Regions from separate parts of the Homo sapiens genome. Here all the other regions are linked to region 1. Evidence: promoter capture Hi-C in 16 types of primary human blood cells and fetal thymus (Javierre and others, 2016). All regions are on one chromosome and are shown on one strand. The core of a region is centred on a gene start or on the middle of the fragment in contact, and the rest is flanking DNA. Distances in the headings are between cores, read along the strand shown.

What was found. The method cuts DNA at HindIII sites, captures the fragments that hold promoters and counts their contacts. A CHiCAGO score of 5 or more calls a contact.
Region 2: a fragment that was not itself captured here is called in contact with the fragment with the promoter of WDR73 in region 1 in 2 of 17 cell types (neutrophils and total CD8 T cells); the score reaches 5.7 in neutrophils.
Region 3: a fragment that was not itself captured here is called in contact with the fragment with the promoter of WDR73 in region 1 in 5 of 17 cell types (neutrophils, total CD8 T cells, total B cells and 2 more); the score reaches 10.9 in neutrophils.

What each region holds. Positions count from the first base shown.
Region 1 is chr15:84,651,871-84,655,698 of GRCh38, reverse strand. It overlaps WDR73 (WD repeat domain 73), which reads left to right and starts at 1,416. Exons shown (of 8, transcript NM_032856.5): 1 at 1,416-1,465; 2 at 2,000-2,067; 3 at 2,897-2,985. The coding sequence starts at 1,425. NMB (neuromedin B) reads left to right here. Exons shown (of 3, transcript NM_021077.4): 3 at 290-567. The coding sequence ends at 325. RefSeq lists enhancers at 1,430-1,669, 1,096-2,063. The HindIII fragment of the contact is 10,475 bases long and covers 1-3,828 here.
Region 2 is chr15:84,572,987-84,576,520 of GRCh38, reverse strand. LINC00933 (long intergenic non-protein coding RNA 933) reads right to left here. Exons shown (of 4, transcript NR_038274.1): 3 at 3,270-3,499. Among named protein-coding and RNA genes, the nearest start is that of LINC00933, 4.1 kb to the right of the region's middle. The HindIII fragment of the contact is 2,256 bases long and covers 317-2,572 here.
Region 3 is chr15:84,775,200-84,778,747 of GRCh38, reverse strand. It overlaps ZNF592 (zinc finger protein 592), which reads right to left. Exons shown (of 11, transcript NM_014630.3): 3 at 436-565. Among named protein-coding and RNA genes, the nearest start is that of ZNF592, 28 kb to the right of the region's middle. The HindIII fragment of the contact is 7,525 bases long and covers 1-3,548 here.

The DNA of each region.
Region 1 (3,828 bases), core at 167-2,666:
GGTGGGGGAGTGAGGACGCTGACACTAGCCCAGCACCAAGCACTGTATTTGGATTTTCTTCCACGATCTTCTTTGACTGTCATGACCACCCTGGGTGGTTGGGGCTGTGTTCTGAGAAAACTACTGCCCCGACCCCTCCAAGGCAATTCAGGGTGCTCTGGGGCCTGCCTCAGCTGACAGCCTGCTGGTGCCCACCTCTGCAGACATCTGGCACTTAGGAATGGCAGGATGCCCCTATCTTTATCAGGAGCCCCTCCCTGGCTCAATTCTTCTGTATGTTTCTCTTCAGTACAGGAGGCTGCTGGTACAAATACTGCAGAAATGACACCAATAATGGGGCAGACACAACAGCGTGGCTTAGATTGTGCCCACCCAGGGAAGGTGCTGAATGGGACCCTGTTGATGGCCCCATCTGGATGTAAATCCTGAGCTCAAATCTCTGTTACTCCATTACTGTGATTTCTGGCTGGGTCACCAGAAATATCGCTGATGCAGACACAGATTATGTTCCTGCTGTATTTCCTGCTTCCCTGTTGAATTGGTGAATAAAACCTTGCTCTTTACATACAATGCCTGGTCCTCTCCTTTCACCCGTCTTTTAGGGGATGGGAGGAAAAGGGGGCTGGAGGGCAGAGTGTTCAGTGAGATGGGGCTGGCTCAAAAAGTCCAGAATACCCCATGCCATGGCACCAGCCTGGCACTGACTCTGGCCTCCTACCCATTCATTCAGCAAGCAAATAACGCCTGTTGCATGCCAGGCTTCGTGCCAGGCGCGGGGTTCTACTCTCATCTCTGCCACCTACTGGCGCAGGCAAGTGTCACTAGTTTCCTCGCTAGTAAAAGGGGGCTGCAGACACTACACTGCCGGGCTTTACTCAATACCCCCGCCGGACTTGGAGGGGAGCGCCGAGTTGGGATCCAGACCCTGCCGGCCGCTTCCTCTCTTCTCTGGCCGTCAGAAGGGTTGCCAGCGTTAGCAAATAAAAATACTGGACACCCAGTTAAATTCGAATTTCAGATAAACAATAATTTTATCTAATAAAATGTACCAAATATTGCATGAACATACTCGTAAGAAAGAAATTATTCACCGTTTTTCTGAAATTCGAATTTAACCGGGCGGTCCTGTATTATTTCTGGCCTTGGAGCATTCATTGCCCCTCTCTTGGGCTGCAAACACCTGGCCCTAAAACGGGCGATCATTTGGTCCTCAGGTCCTGCTTGGAGCTGACAGCGGGAAAGTCCCGATTTCAGGTCACTTTTCCCGGAGCTTTCGCGGAGAAAACCCGTAACCCACCCATGCCGGGCCGCAGCTCAGCCTGTTAACCCCGCCCCTAACGGGAGGCCCTGCCCACATCTCGCGAGAGCCGCGCGGCCCCCGAAGGCTCGCAGGCGGAAGTGAGACGCCGGAAGCGGTCGTTGCCATGGATCCTGGGGACGACTGGCTGGTGGAATCCTTGCGCTTGTAAATCGTACGGGGCTGGGACATGGGAGCTGGGCCTGGAGCTTGCCTGGCGGGCGGATGGGTGTGGGTGGAGGCACGTTGGGGATCCTGGTGCAGAGTGGGCCAGCTGTGGCCTCGGGGCTCGCCACCGTGGAGGACTCCGCCTGGGCCTAGGCCCCCATCTCTAGGAAATGGCTCCTTCCTGCGTGCGCGCGTTGTGAGATTACTAGTAAGAGCCGCGCTTGTGAAGACGCAGTGCCCAGTTAGTTTGCGCCAGCCTCTGAGTTCAGCTCAGAACACAGATGATCTCATTGATTCCTCACGTCAACCTTGGGAAATCTGGGTACCCTGGGACGTCCACACATGAGGACCGAGGCTCAGGGACATCAAGGGACTGGCCTGGTCCCAGAAACAGGGAGTAAAATGGGAAGTAAACTCAGTCCCACGTCTGCCTGACTCCAGAGTTTGGGCCACTGAACCATGCGGCTGCCATCTTGGAGTTCTTTGAGCTGTGAAGTGCTGTGCATCGTGTGATTCTGTGTCCCTTTTGTGCAGGTACCAGGATTTCTATGCATTCGACCTGTCAGGAGCCACTCGAGTCCTTGAATGGATTGATGACAAAGGTGGTATACCTTTCTAGCCCTGAAGGAGAGGGAATCTCACTCCTGAGCTGGGTTTCAGGAGCTAAGCCTAGAGGGACCCAACCCACTCTTCTGGGCACCTGAGAGTCACTTGTAGCAATTTGATGCCCCATCAGCACTAATATTCCTCTTATTAAGATCTCTGACCGGGAGCAGTGGTTCACGCCTGTAATCCCAGCACTTTGGGAGGCCGAGGCAGGCGGATCACCTGAGGTCAGGAGTTCGAGACCAGTCTGGCCAACATGGTGAAACCCCGTCTCTACTGAAAATACAAAAATTAGCCGGACGAGGTGGTGCACACCTGTGTACCAGCAGCTACTGGGGAGGCTGAGGCAGGAGAATCACTTGAACCCAGGAGGTGGAGGTTGCAGTGAGCTGAGATCACGACACTGTATTCCAGCGTGGCTAACAAAAAAAGTCTTCAGGCTGGGCACTTCAGGAGGCTGAGGCAGCGGGCAGATTGCTTGATCCCAGGAATTTGAGACTAACCTAAGCAAGGAAACCCTGTCTCTACAAAAAATACAAAAATTAGCCGAGCATGGTGGCTCACGCCTATAATCCCAGCTACTCTGAAGGCTGTGGTGGGAGGATCACTTGAGCCTGGCAGGTTGAGGCTGCAGTGAGCTGTGATCGGACCACTGCACTCCAGCCTGGCTGACACAGCGAGACCTTGTCTGAAAAAGACACAACCAGGTACTCAATTCCTCCATACAAGGCTGCACAGTGAAGGAATGTATCCTTACTTCGGGGGATTGCATGGTCTGCAATCTTTCTAACAATTTGTGACAGCTACCTCTGCTTCTTTTTCCAGGAGTCTTTGTTGCTGGCTATGAAAGCCTGAAAAAGAATGAAATTCTTCATCTGAAATTACCTCTCAGACTTTCTGTAAAGGAAAACAAGGTAACTTAAAATATAAATGCTGAGTATGTCAACTTTTATTTATTTATTAAACATTTGTGGAGCTCCTGTTATCTACCAGGTATTGTCCTGGATACTAGAAAGAGAGAAAGCGCTAGGCCTGCCCTTCTAGTCTAACAGAGGGAGGCACATATGCACAGAGATAAATGCTGTAGAATGTCTCGTGGTTTACAGAGGGCTATCAGAGGAGGAGGTCAGTTATACTTTATCAGAAATAGATTTAGGGAGCGATTAAGGATATAGAGGGCGGTCGAAATGCGTAGAGTGATTAAAGTCACCTAGTGAATGTGTGGTATATAAGGAGTGAGGAGAATATAGTGAGGACGGAACCTCAGGGAACACATTTAAGGGATGAGTACAGGAAGATGCACCCCCCCTCCCCAAAGAATACTAAGAAAGAACAGCCTCTGAGGTAAGAGGAATCTCAGAAAAGGTCAATGTTTCTGAAGCCAAGAGAAGAGAACTTCTCAAGAAAAAAAGAGTTAGTAGCTGTCTAGAGTTCCAATAAAATCATTGAGAGAAGAATTGAAGGCCAGGTGCAGTGGCTTACGCCTGTAATCCCAGCACTTTGGGAGGCCGAGTTGGGCGGATCATGAGGTCAGGAGTTCGGGACCATCCTGACCAACATGGTGAAACCCCGTCTCTACTAAAAATACAAAAATTAGCCAGGCATGGTGGCGCACACCTGTAATCCCAGCTACTCAGGAGGCTGAGGCAGGAGAATTGCTTGAACCCGGGAGGCGGAGGTTGTAGTGAGCTGAGATCGTGCCACTGCACTCCAGCCTGGGCAACAGCAAGACTGCATCTCAAAAAAAAAAATCATTC
Region 2 (3,534 bases), core at 195-2,694, 79 kb after region 1:
GACCCCCTTAGAGTTGTAAGCCCTTAAAAGGGACAGTCATTGCTTACTTGGGGAGCTTGGCTTTTGAGATGCAAGTCTGCAGAAGCTCCCAGCTGAATAAAGCTCCTTCCTTTTTTAACCTGGTGTCTGAGGAGTTTTGTCTGCAGCTCATCCTGCTACAATATGTCATGGACCAACCTCAAAAACATTAGCTAAGTAAAAAAGCCAGACACGAGACCACATATTGTATAATTCCATTGATTTGAAATGTCCAAAAAAGGCAAATTTATAGAGAAAGAAATGGGCTGATTTATCTCAAGAGGCAGGGATTCAAGCTTTCTAGACTATATGTGATACATAGATGAGAAAAAATAAGGAAAAGAAAATAAATTTAAATAGAAATAAATGAAAATAATACTTCTCCCTGATTATAAAGAAAATCATATTCTTTTTCTAATAATTTGGAAGACAAAATATGAAGAAAAGTCTTTAATTTTGCCACTCAAAACATTCTGCCTTGTTGCTTTTTATACTTTTTTATGCATATACACATTTTAAAAAGTAGAATCATTATATAGTCTTTTGTCACTATGTTTTAGGCATATTTCTATGGCAGTAAATCTATCCTTAGCATCATCATTTTTAATAGCTCGATGTATATTAACTTAATCATTGCCACCCCAGAAATAAATTTTCTTATATGTATATTTTTAGTGGATTAGAGCAAGCATTTTTGGATTTAATTCATAGAAGTAGAATTTCTGGAGGAAAATAACGTACAACAGTTTTAGGGTTTTTAATATAAATTTTCAAATTATCCTGCAGAAAAATTGGTTCAGTTTATACTCCCACCAACAGGGGCAGAGCTCCAGTTTCCCCCTCCCATTTGTCCTCTTCGCTGGTCTTTAAGCAGAAAATCTGATTGTTTTCATTACATTTATTTGGTTTCTAACGCTTTTGAATCTTTTTTTTTTTTTTTTTTTGAGATGGAGTCTTGCTCTGTCATCCAGGCTGGAGTGCAGTGGTGCAGTCTCAGCTCACTGCAATGTCTGCCTCTTGGGTTCAAGCTATTCTCTTGCCTCAGCCTCCAGAGTAGCTGGGATTACAGGTATCCACCACCACACCTGGCTAATGTTTGTATTTTTAGTAAAGACAGGGTTTCACCATGTTGGCCTGGCTGGTCTCACATTCCTGATCTTAGGTGATCCTCCTGCCTTGGCCTCCCTGAGTTTTGGGATTATAGGCATGAGCCACTGCACCCAGCCACCACAGCTAACTTCTTCTTTTTTTTTTTTGAGATGGAGTCTCACTGTGTTGCCCAGGCTGGAGTGCAGTGGCCCGATCTTGGCTCATTGCAAGCTCTGCCTCCCGGGTTCACGCCATTCTCCTGCCTCAGCCTCCCAAGTAGCTGGGACTACAGGCGCCTGCCACCATGCCCGGCTAATTTTTTTTTGTATTTTCAGTAGAGATGGGGTTTCACTGTGTTAGCCAGGATGGTCTCGATCTCCTGACCTCATGATCCGCCCGCCTCAGCCTTCCAAAGTGCTGGGATTACAGGTGTGAGCCACTGCGCCTGGCCGCAGCTAACTTCTAATGAGGCCACCTTAGACAAGTTACTTACTGTCTCTGAGTGCAGTGGTGCAGTAATGGCTCACTGTAACCTTGATCACCTAGACTCAAGAGATCCTCCCACCTCAGCCTCATGAGTAGCTGGGACTACAAGCCTGCACCACCACACCCAGTTAATTTTTCTAGTTTTTGTAGAGACAGAGTTTTGCTATGTTGCCTAGGCTGGTCTTGAATTCCTGGCCTAAAGCAATCCTCCTGCCTTGGCCTCCCAAAGTGCTGGGATTACAGGCATGAGCCACCATGCCCACATTTTCTTTTCCAAGCTATATAGAGGATGCTGTATGCATCCTTCTGGAACTTGTTTTTTTTCACTTAATATTATATTGCTAAGATTCATCCTTATTGTTGTTTATAGCTGGCATTCATTCTTTTTGTATGTTGTGACATCACCAGAAGATAGAGATCCTGAGATCTCTTAAGAACTGCTGCTGGGAGTATACACTGGTATAACCACTTTGGAAAACAATTTGGCTCCATCTCATAAGGCTGAATATTCATACTCCTCCCAGCTCAGCAATTCTACTCTACATCCAAAAGAAATTCTTGCCTATATAAAACAATATAAAACAGGGGATGTGGACAAGGAATGTTCCTAACAGCTCTGTTCAAAATAGCAAAAACCTATTTCCCATCAGCTGGAGAGTGAGCGACTAAATTGTGCTTTTTATTCCCTTTAATTTCCAGTAGTCTTAGGATGCAAGTGGCTTTCCCATGGCTAGCTTGGGGAGGGGGATACTCTTGGCAATGGAGTCTGGGGTGGCAGTCCTGATTAGCCCTAGGGCAATCAGTGCTGCCCAAAACAAGAGAAAATAGAACAAGGTGCCCCACTGAGCCAATGCCCTGGGTCCCTGGAGGTACAGGTTTGTACCTGGAGGAAATAGCCATCATACAAATCAGTCTTTTCAAATGCTTCTGTCACTGGGCTGAGTCCAAAGGACACCCTTTCCCAAAACATTACAAAGCTTATTGGGGCTACCATTTATTGAGCATTTATCATGTGCCTGATCATGTACTAGTGTAGTAATTGTGTGCATTATTTCATTTATTTATTTATTTACTTACTTATTCATTGATTTGAGATAGGGTCTCTCTCTGTTGCCTGAGCTGGAGTGCAGTGGCGTGATCATGGCTCACTGCAGCCTCAAACTCCTGGGCTCAAATGATCTCACCTCAGCCTCCCGAGTAGCTGGGAATACAGGCATAAACCATCAAGTCCAGCTAATTTTTTAAAAAACATTTTCGGGCCGGGCAGGTGGCTCATGCCTGTAATCCCAGCACTTTGGGAGGCCGAGGCAGGTGGATCACAAGGTGAGGATATCGAGACCATCCTGGCTAACATGGTGAAACCCCGTTTCTACTAAAAATGCAAAAAATTAGCTGGGTGTGGTGGCGGGCGCCTGTAGTCCCAGCTACTCCAGAGGCTGACGCAGGAGAATGGCATGAACCCAGGAGGCAGAGCTTGCAGTGAGCTGAGATCATGCCACTGCACTCCAGCCTGGGCAACAGAGCGAGACTCCATCTCAAAAAGCAAAACAAAAGAAAACAAAAAACATTTTCATAGAAATGAGGTCTGGCTTTGTTGCCCAGGCTAGTCTCAAACTCCTGGCTTCAAGTGATCCTCCCCCTTGAGCCGTATTATTTCATTTAATCTTCACCATCACCTTATAAGAGTGCTTGGGGGTAGGTGCTCCACACAGTAGCAACGTAGCAACCTCCACTCATAGTGACAACGAGACTCAGTGTAGTCAAGCAACTTCTCAAAGTTCACACAGCTGGAGGGTGGCTGAGCCAGGATGAAGACCTAGGACTCTAAAGCTGGTGTGCCAGTAAATGAGAAAAGTCTCTAAGCGTTCAGGATAGCTTCCTCCCAAGAAATCTTTCTCCAAAAGTTCTAAAAACAATGACAGATCCATCTTTTATAAAGCA
Region 3 (3,548 bases), core at 926-3,425, 120 kb before region 1:
AGTAGCCAGAAAGAGTCATCGCCCAAAACCCCCTAACAGCAGTTAGTGTAGCATCTCCACAGGGGGAAATGTTGTAGGAAAAGGGGTCATTGGGAAGCCTTAAAGCATCTCAGGAAAAGTTTCTTGTAAAGCCCCGGCTCTTAGAGCCAGGCCAGCAACCTTTGATATGCAAGTCGGCCATTAGAAACTGGGTCCACCCAAACATGGAGATTCCCACGGCCTTCTTGCCCTTTCCCTACATGTTCCTGGCAACATGGCCAACCCCATATAACCTCACGAGTGTAGAACGTCGTGTCAACCTGCATTTGCATATTAAAAAGCTAGGGTGGGAGGGCCAGCTTTTTCTCGGGCTACGTGAATTACATGCCTAGTCAAACCAATCCCCTGAGCCCTATGCAAATCAAACACCGCCTCCTCCAGCCTCTGCATGTGTACCTGACTGGTATCCGTGGCAGGTAGGGACCTCCTCTTTCGGCTTTGGAGCCCCCCCTCCCTCTGTCTCCGTACGGGGGAGCGTCTTCCTTCTGTCTTCTCCCTTCCTTCTTGCCTATTAAACTCTCCGCTCCTTAAAACAAAAACAAAAACAAAAAGCCCTTACAAAGCAATAAGTAAAATATAAGCAACCCATTAGAAAAATGAGTGAGGGTGATGAGCAGGCAATTAAAAGAAGAAAGACAAATGGACAGACTAGAAAAAATACTCCAGAATGGAGTTACATTACAAGAATATTCCAAATGTTAAAAGTATCTAGGCCGGGCACGGTGGCTCACGCCTGTAATCCCAGCACTTTGGGAGGCCGAGGCGGGCGGATCACCAGGTCACGAGTTGGAGACTCCTGGCTAACACGGTGAAACCCCGTCTCTACTAAAAATACAAAAAAATTAGCCGGGCGTGGTGGTGGGCGCCTATAGTCCCAGCTACTCGGGAGGCTGAAGCAGGGGAATGGCGTAAACCCGGGAGGCGGAGCGTGCAGTGAGCTGAGATCGTGCCACCGCACTCCAGCCTGGGAGACAGAGCTAGACTCCATCTCAAAAAAAAAAAAAAAAAAAAAAAGTATCTCAACAGACGAAATTATTTTCTCTTTTGTTTATCTTCATTTTAAAATTATTCAAACTATGTTTCAAATTGTATTATTTACATAACTTCATTATTTTTAGCACTTTGGTGGTTATTATTTTCCCACAAGGTGGGATGACCGCTTGAGCCTAGGAGTTCAAGACCAACATAGTGAGACCCCATGCCTTTCTTTTTTTTTTCTTTTTTTTTTTTTTTGAGACGGAGTCTTGCCCTGTCACCCAGTCTGGAATGCAGTGGCGTGATCTCGGCTCACTGCAACCTCCACTTCCCGGGTTCCAGCAACTCTCCTGCTCAGCCTCCCAAGTAGTGGGGACTACAGACATGCATCACCACGCCCGTCTAATTTTTGTATTTTTAGTAGAGACGGGGTTTTGCCATGTTGGCCAGGCAGGTCTCAAACTCCTGACCTCAACTGATCCACCCACCTCAGCCTCCCAAAGTGCTGGGATTACAGGCGTGAGCAACTGCGCCCAGCCCCTCTTTTTTTTAAATGTAAAAATTTTTTTGATTATATTTTTAATATACAAAAAGGAAAAAAAATAGAAGAAACTAGGCAGGCCAAAAAATTTAAGGAGCTTCTTACAAAAGACTCTAAAAATAATATAACATTCTTTTCTTTCTTTTTTTTTCTCGCACTGTCTCCTGGGCTGGAGTGCAATGGCGTGATCTCAGCTCACTGCAACCTCCGCCTCCCAGGTTCAAGCGACTCTTCCAACCCAGTCTCCCGAGTAGCTGGGATTATAGGCACGCACCACCACACCCAGCTAATTTTTCTGTATTTTTAATAGAGACAGGGTTTCACCATGTTAGCCAGGGTGGCCTTGATCTCCTGACCTCGTATTCCACCGGCCTTGGCCGCCCAAAGTGCTGAGATTACAGGCGTGAGCTACCAGGTGTTTTGTTTTGTTTTGTTTTGAAACAGAGTCTTGCTCTGTCACCCAGGCTGGAGTGCAGTGGCATGATCTTGGCTCACTGCAACCTCCACCTCCCGGGTTAAAGGGATTCTTGTGCCTCAGCCTCCTGAGCAGCTGGGATTACAGATGTGTGCCACCATGCCCGGCTAATTTTTGTATCTCTAATAGAGATGGGGTTTCGCCATGTTGGCCAAGATGGTCTCAAACTTCTAGCCTCATGTGATCCACCCACCTTGGCCTCCCAAAGTGCTGGGGTTACAGGCATGAGCCACTGCACCCAGCCAAAAATCATTAATGTAAAATTCTTAAAGCACATCTGACATGGATCACCAGGGAAATGCTAGTTAGAAAATCAACAGAATAACTTAGTTAAAATAAAAGGTATAGTCAAAATAAAAAGTTTCAGCATACACCAGTATCTATAACCTGTTGGAAGCAGCAAGCCAAAGTTGAGAAGAGCAAACCACAGGCAGCTGCCTACCTTGCCTGGGGGCAGTCACTCAGGGACCAGAGCCATGTCCATGAACACCAGCCCAGGAACCATGGCCTGGCCTACAGAGCCTTTGTCAGAGGCTCACCCTGAAGCATCTGAACGAGCTAGATAGATCCAGACCTGGTAAGCTCACTGAGTGATCTAGAACAGCCTAGTCAAGAGGCAAGGCAGGATCACTGGTTTGGTGGCCTAGGCTGAGAGTAAATTTCACTCAAAGGTGAGATAGTGGAATTATGTAACAATATGAACAGTCCCCTTGGGGGTAAAGAACAACTCTAAGACTGGCAGATTGACAACTATACCCTCTCTCAGAATAAGTTTCTACCTAGGGAATATCTGGAAATATTTTTTAAAGATGAATATAAATTCATATTGTTTATTACAGAGTCTACTACTTTGCCCAGAAAATTTTACCAAACATTTAAGTAAACATATCAACTAGATGTGGGTAAGGAGCATCTTAGTTTTGAAAGGGCCTCAGCATGCCGAATCACCCTATTGGAATTATTTGAGGGTATAAAAACAATATGATTCGGCCGGGCGCAGTGGCTCATGCCTGTAATCCCAGCACTTCGGGAGGCCGAGGTGGGCAGATCACTTGAGGTCAGTTTGAGACCAGACTGGCCAATATAGCAAAACCTCATCTCTACTAAAAATACAAAAATTAACCAGGCATGGTGGTGTGCACCTGCAAACCCAGCTACTCAGGAGGCCGACGCAGGAGAATCTCTTGAATTCGGGAGGTGGAGGTTGCAGTGAGCTGAGATCGCGTCACTGCACTCCAGCCTGGGCAACAGAGCGAGACTCTGTCTCAAAAAAACAAAACAGAACAACAACAACAACAACAACAACAACACCCAGTATGATTAGCTGGATGCGGTGGCTCATGACTGTAATCCCAGTACTTTGGGAGGTTGAGGTGGGCAGATCGCTTGAGGTCAGGAGTTCGACACTAGCCTGGCCAACACAGTGAAACCCTGTCTCTACCAAAAATACAAAAATTAGCCAGGTATGGTGGCAGATGTCTGTAGTCTCAGCTACTTAGGAGGCTGAGACCGGAGAAT